Linked DNA regions of Homo sapiens: region 1 is linked to region 2. The links are contacts of gene promoters, found by promoter capture Hi-C in blood cells and fetal thymus (Javierre and others, 2016). All regions are on one chromosome and are shown on one strand. Each heading gives the region's core, a stretch centred on a gene start or on the middle of the fragment in contact. The rest is flanking DNA. Distances are from core to core; before and after follow the strand shown. Region 1 holds the start of LOC105375890 (a long non-coding RNA gene). Region 2 holds the start of PRDM14 (PR/SET domain 14).

The links. The method cuts DNA at HindIII sites, captures the fragments that hold promoters and counts their contacts. A CHiCAGO score of 5 or more calls a contact.
Region 1: a fragment that was not itself captured here is called in contact with the fragment with the promoter of PRDM14 in region 2 in 3 of 17 cell types (neutrophils, activated CD4 T cells and megakaryocytes); the score reaches 7.8 in neutrophils.

The regions. Positions count from the first base shown.
Region 1 is chr8:70,533,739-70,536,656 of GRCh38, forward strand. It overlaps LOC105375890 (a long non-coding RNA gene), which reads right to left and starts at 2,207. Exons shown (of 3, transcript XR_929030.3): 1 at 1,476-2,207. The HindIII fragment of the contact is 3,569 bases long and covers 1-2,918 here.
Region 2 is chr8:70,069,981-70,072,755 of GRCh38, forward strand. It overlaps PRDM14 (PR/SET domain 14), which reads right to left and starts at 1,272. Exons shown (of 8, transcript NM_024504.4): 1 at 1,170-1,272. RefSeq lists enhancers at 766-1,495, 1,496-2,225. The HindIII fragment of the contact is 12,104 bases long and covers 1-1,789 here.

The sequences.
Region 1 (2,918 bases), core at 91-2,590, 460 kb after region 2:
TACAGGCGTGCATACTTTGTTTTTTCAATCGAGAGTGATGATTACATGGATAGTTTCTACAGTCCTCTTAAAACTGTAGAGACCAGACTAGATTTTCCTTAAGTCCTTTAATCATCTTTGTGGTTTTTTGCAGAACCTTCTCCAGTTTTTCAAAATTCCACTTCAATTGTGGAGACCACAGCTAGATTAGTCACCGTAGAGAACCCATTATAATTAGCTCAACACTGTGCAGTTGCTTGGGCGGCTGACTCGGCCATGAAAACCCAGTCGGCCAGTCCCCATCGACACATAGGTTGTGTTCCAGGAGTTCATTAGTAAGTCGGTTGTTTGGAACACAGAAAGCCTTTCCCCATAGAAACAGAATTATAGATGGTGGCTTGTTTCCCAGGCCAGTGCACAAAAATCTATTTAATGCACATGCAGCTGAACCAGGGCCAGTCCCTTAAGTCTTGGACTTGCCTGATCCCCAGTGGAGCCCCCAGTCTCATGGAGCCCTGAGAACCTCTGAGCCTCAAGCATCCAACCACAAGGCCTCTGAGAGAGGTGAGAATTGGGCTGACAATTTTAGAGTGAGAATCATTTGCAGCATGATTATGAAAAACACTTCTTTGGAAGACTTAACCTGCAATCGTGCTTACTGTTATTAGAAAGCAATCAAGTTACCCTATGATAAATACACCGACTATATGCGGATATTGTACCTAAATCTACCTAAATTACCTTTAATTTTCACAGTACTCCTGTAAGAAAATGACTCTCTTTCTCAGTATTCCCATTTTGCCTGTGTCTTAAGGAGACTGTGGCCCAAGGTCAGGCAGATAGAAGGTGGCAGAACTGATGTTGGAGATCTGGCCTTCTGTCTCGTAAAGCTGAGACCTTTTCACTGCACAACACTGCCTCCCAGTGGACTGTGCTTAACACTGAACCTCGCGTGGCTGAGCCAACCACGTATACTCTGCGGGTGCACTTAACAAGTTCTTCATTCATACATCCAACAAAGAATCTTTGAGTGCTTCCAATGAGCGAGGCCTCGGGAACACAAAATCAAATTAGACGTGGTGTTCTCATAGAGTGGTTGGGAAAGGGAATAAGTAAATCAACGATTGAAATCTATGAGATGGAATGTAATTAAATTTTAAAAGAGAAAAAGATAACATAGAAACCCAGCAGAGAGATGTATTGGTCAGACAGACGAGGATGGTGGTGGACCAGAAAGTCCCTGTGCTCCCCTAGCTTTCACCTCCTGTCCTCAGACTATACCATCCACCGTCTACCACACCTACTGATACCGTCATCAGTTGAGCTGAGCCCCTCACATCTCCATCATTTTAGCTTTTAGCTTTCTGTAAGTCTCTCCGAAACCACGTCAGCCTTTGTTCCTGGTGATTTTAATATCCACGCTGATGACTGCTTCTGTACCCAGGCCTCTCAGCACCTTTAACTCCCCTTGTCATCTACCCACCTCAGTCACTTACCTCAGTGGTCGTTCTCTAGACCTGGTCACTGCCAAGAACTGCAACTCCTCTACAATCTCAGTTTATCATCTCGTCCATGGCACACGAAAGTGAGAGCGGCTGGAGGCTGCTAAATGCCCAGGAGGATGGGGTGAAACCCCACCTTCCAGCCAAAAACACTGAACTGCTGGTCCCAGATGAAACCCGCGACACAGGCTGAGTATTTCTGTTCCTTTTTGCCCCCGCTCTTTCCTGATTAATTATTTCTAAATAATGCGTTTTAACCGATCAAGCGTTGCCTTTTCCAATACTACCTATGACCTGCCCCTCCCCTATTCTAAGCCTATAAAAAGCTCGTGACCCAGCCACGAGGGGAGGAAAAAACCATCCGACTAAGGGGGTGGGCGACCACCCCCCAGAGTCCCTTCTCCGCTAATTGCTGTTCCCTTGCTCAATAAAATTCTTCTCCGCCCTCTTCACCCTTCAATGTCCAACGTATCCTCATTCTTCTCAGGCGTGGTACAAGAGCTTGGGAACTGCCGAACGCGGGTACAAGAGCTTGGGAACCGCCGAACGTGGGTACAAGAGCTTGGGAACCGCCGAACGCGGATAGAAGCTATAACACAGGCGAGCTGGGGCATGCCAGCGTGGCTGAGCAGGGCGCGGGTGGGGCATCGCTGGCCGGAGGTCCCGGTTTGCAAAGTGACCGAGAAGAAAAATCCTGCATCAAAAGTTACAGTTGCTGCCGGGAGCTGTGGCTCATGCCTGTAATCCCAGCACTTTGGGAGGCTGAGGTGGGCAGATCATGAGGTCAGCAGTTCGAGACCAGCCTGGCCAACATGATGAAACCCCATCTCTACTAAAAATACAAAAATTAGCCGGGCGTGGTGGCGAGTGCCTGTAATCTCAGCTACTTGGGAGGCTGAGGCAGGAGAATTGCTTGAACCTGAGAGGTGGAGGTTGCAGTGAGCTGAGATAGCACCACTGCACTCTAGTCTGGGTAACAGAGCAAGACTCCATCTGGGGAAAAAAAAAAGTTCCAGTTGCTGGCATCTTCTGCATTTGTGTTGCCAATCCTTTTAATTCTAGCCATTCTGGTGAGATTGTAATTGTAATAACATTGAAATGGTATGCATTTCTCTGATAAGGAAATAAAGTACTTTTATATACATTTATTGGACATTGGAATATCATTTTCGTGAAGTGTCTTGTTCATTTGCTACGGGATTGTCTGTCTTTATTGATTAATACAAGTTCTTTATATGATAAATATATTGCAAATAATTTCCTTTATTCTGTCACTTGCCCTCTTATTCTCGTCATTTTGATGAAAAGAAGTTCGCAATTTTGATGAAATCCAATTTATCAATCTTTTCCTCTGTGGTTAACATTATTGTTCAAATCTCACATTTATTTAAGAAATATATTTTAAAATATATTTTAAGAAAATATATTTAAATATAA
Region 2 (2,775 bases), core at 22-2,521:
AGATCCAAGGGAACAGGATAAACGCCCCCAGTCCGATCCCGCCAGCCCGCTCCCACAATTAAGACAAAACGAAAAAACAGCAATAGAAGCAAACACAAAAAAGCCCCAAACGGAAATCTGCCGGGATCCTGCCCTACTCTAAATTCCGGGTTAGTGTTGCCTTCCCCTTCCCTCTCCAAGCACCCCTTCCCTAAGCCCGGCCGCCTTCCCACACCCGCTCTCCGCTTTCGGCCCCCAACCCGGTTCCTGCAAAACCCATTGAAGTTCCCTTTCCTTCCTTCTTCTCAGTCCTACAAAACTCGTTGGTAGGGTCTGTGGGAGCCGCGGGGCCCTGCCAACCTCGGGGCTGGGCCGGGAGCCGAGCGCAGGCGGTCGGAGGGCAATGGAGCAAGCGACAGCTCCAGGCGCTCCTGGGCCCTCGGCTGGGAGGGAAGAGCCGAGGACCCTGGGTCGCACCGCGCAGATGGAGACGCGCTCCCAGAGCCCCCGGGCAGGTCCAGGGACCCCGCGACCTGCTCTGGCCCAGCGGTGTGACCCCGCGGGTCCTGGCGGTCCTGACTGCCCGCAGGGGAGGGGCGCGCCACTTTTGGCTGCCCTAGGATGCGCCGCCTGAACCTCTTTTCCCTCGCGGGCAGCGTCCGCCACATTCCCCGGGTTCCTCGGAAACTCCAATCATTCTACCAGGACTATTGGGGCCTGGGGTAGCCCCTCGGGAGCCGCGTGGACGAGCCCTGGCCAGGTGGGAGCGAAGAGCCTCGGCGACTGCCAGTCCTCCCGCCCCCGCACCGCCGGGAAAGGATGGCGTTTTAATAGACAGGCAGCAAGTTCACCGAGGCTGAAGAATGAAGCCCCTTCAGGGCCGGCGGGTCTTGAGATCAATGAGCCCAATAAGAAAACCAAGCAGGGTCATGACTCAGAAATTAAAGAACACGGGGTCAGGAGAAGAGGTCAGCCACGACACAGGCAGCGGCCCGTCTCCTCCCGATCCTCCAAAGGCGCCCTTCTCCTAGCCTCCTCCGACCTCAGGGATCTGCAACTTGGGATTCAAAGCCCCCGAGAGGGCAGAACGACCATCCAAAACGAACTGCGCCAGCGAGTGCTGCCGCCCTCCCCAACGGCCCTGGAAGACCACCGCCCCGGGCCCCAGGCGCGTCCTGTCCCGTGCCTACCTCCGACACCACCTCCAAGAGCGCCACCGCGGAGCGGGCGCCTCCTGGACGCTGCGGGGCCACTCGGGCTCGGTAGGCCACTCGGGCTCGGTAGACTTCGGGCGGGCCCTGAGGGCTGAGCCAGGCTTAAGAGGGCGGGCGGGGCCGCGGGGCATCGACAGGTCGAGGGTAGGGAATTGACCCGGCCCACGCAGATCCCCGCGTCGTCTTCTCCCCGCCCACCGCAGCCATTGGCCGACTCTCGACTCGCCCTCTGTCCCCTGGGGTCGCTCACTTAACTCATCAGTTTTCCAAACCCTCCCTGGGACCCTAGTGGCGAGCACTCGCCGCTGGCCTTCTAGGGCAGGCAGTATTGCCGCTCCAGGCGTGCGGAGTCGGGGAGAAAAAAACCGAACACGTGTGCTACCCAGGGCCCCCAGATAAGCCCCTCCGCGCGCACACACACCCTGAACCGGAGTCCAGAAGGCCGGACTCGCGTCCCGGGGTCGAGCCCCTTACTCTCCGCTCCCAGTTCGGAAGATCCCAGCCTGCCCGAAGGCGGCGTCTGACCCGCTGGTGGACCTGGTGGGTGTCTGTTCCTGATACCTGGGGACGAGGCGGGAGCGCCTTGAGCGCTGGGAAGCTTCGCCTCGCGAGTCCCCGGCAGTGACACGTGGGAGCGTTGGGCCCGGCACCCCCGACGCTTCCGAGGTTTCGGGTGGTCGTTTTGCTCTCTCGGGGGCTTTTATTCCTTAAGTGGCTTTAAACGACCGAGGATGGGCCTCCCGCGCCGCCGCAGCTGTCACTTCCTTCGGGAAAGGCTAGCGACCTTGGACGCGCAGGCTCTGAAAACCAAGGTCCAGACCCATACCGAGCGCCCAAAGACCGCATTTGAATTCTCCTCGCCGGCCATTGAGGGAGAGAAAGGAACGCTTAGTTCCATTCACATTCACAGAAAGAAGCGCCGAGGGTGGGGGAAACGCAGTCTTGCCGGGTGAGCCGGGACAGGTTCCTCGCCTGCCCCCCGGCCGCTGCTTCCTCTTAGCTGAATGGGGAGCGACCCGCCCCGGGCGCGGCCTTCGGGGCTGAAGACTGAGGTGCAGCCTCACCCCCGGCCTGGCAGCGGCTTGGAAGAGAGAGGGAAAGGAGGAACATCTACCCGGCTAAGAGACGCCGCCAGAGTCCCTAAAGCTGGCGGGGGACGGAGGCCGGGGTCCCGGATCTTCAGAGCGCCCGCAGCCGGGCTTCTGGGCTCCTCGGTGCGGGGAACCTGACCCTGTAGCCTTCGCCAGGGCGCGGCGGGGCTGCAAGAAGGGAGGAAGGAGTGGGACTAGAGCCTTCGAGGGCGCGGGCGGCGTGCACTCAGCCTTGTCTCCCCGCGCGCCCTGCCGCCTGCTTGCCCCCTTTGCTGCACCGGGTGGCCCTGGTCCCCGCGCCCGCCCGCCCCCGACGCCTTCGCGTGGTTCCGCGCTGCCCGCGGCCAGCCCCGTTTCGCTTCGCAAGGAGCGTGTTGTTTTCTCAATCGAAATGGGATCAAGATCCCAGGGTTTCCTCGTCTCCTTGTTTTGAGGTGATAGGATCTTAGCCAATAGATCGAAAACGTGAAAAGTACCCGTCGCCTCTTGTC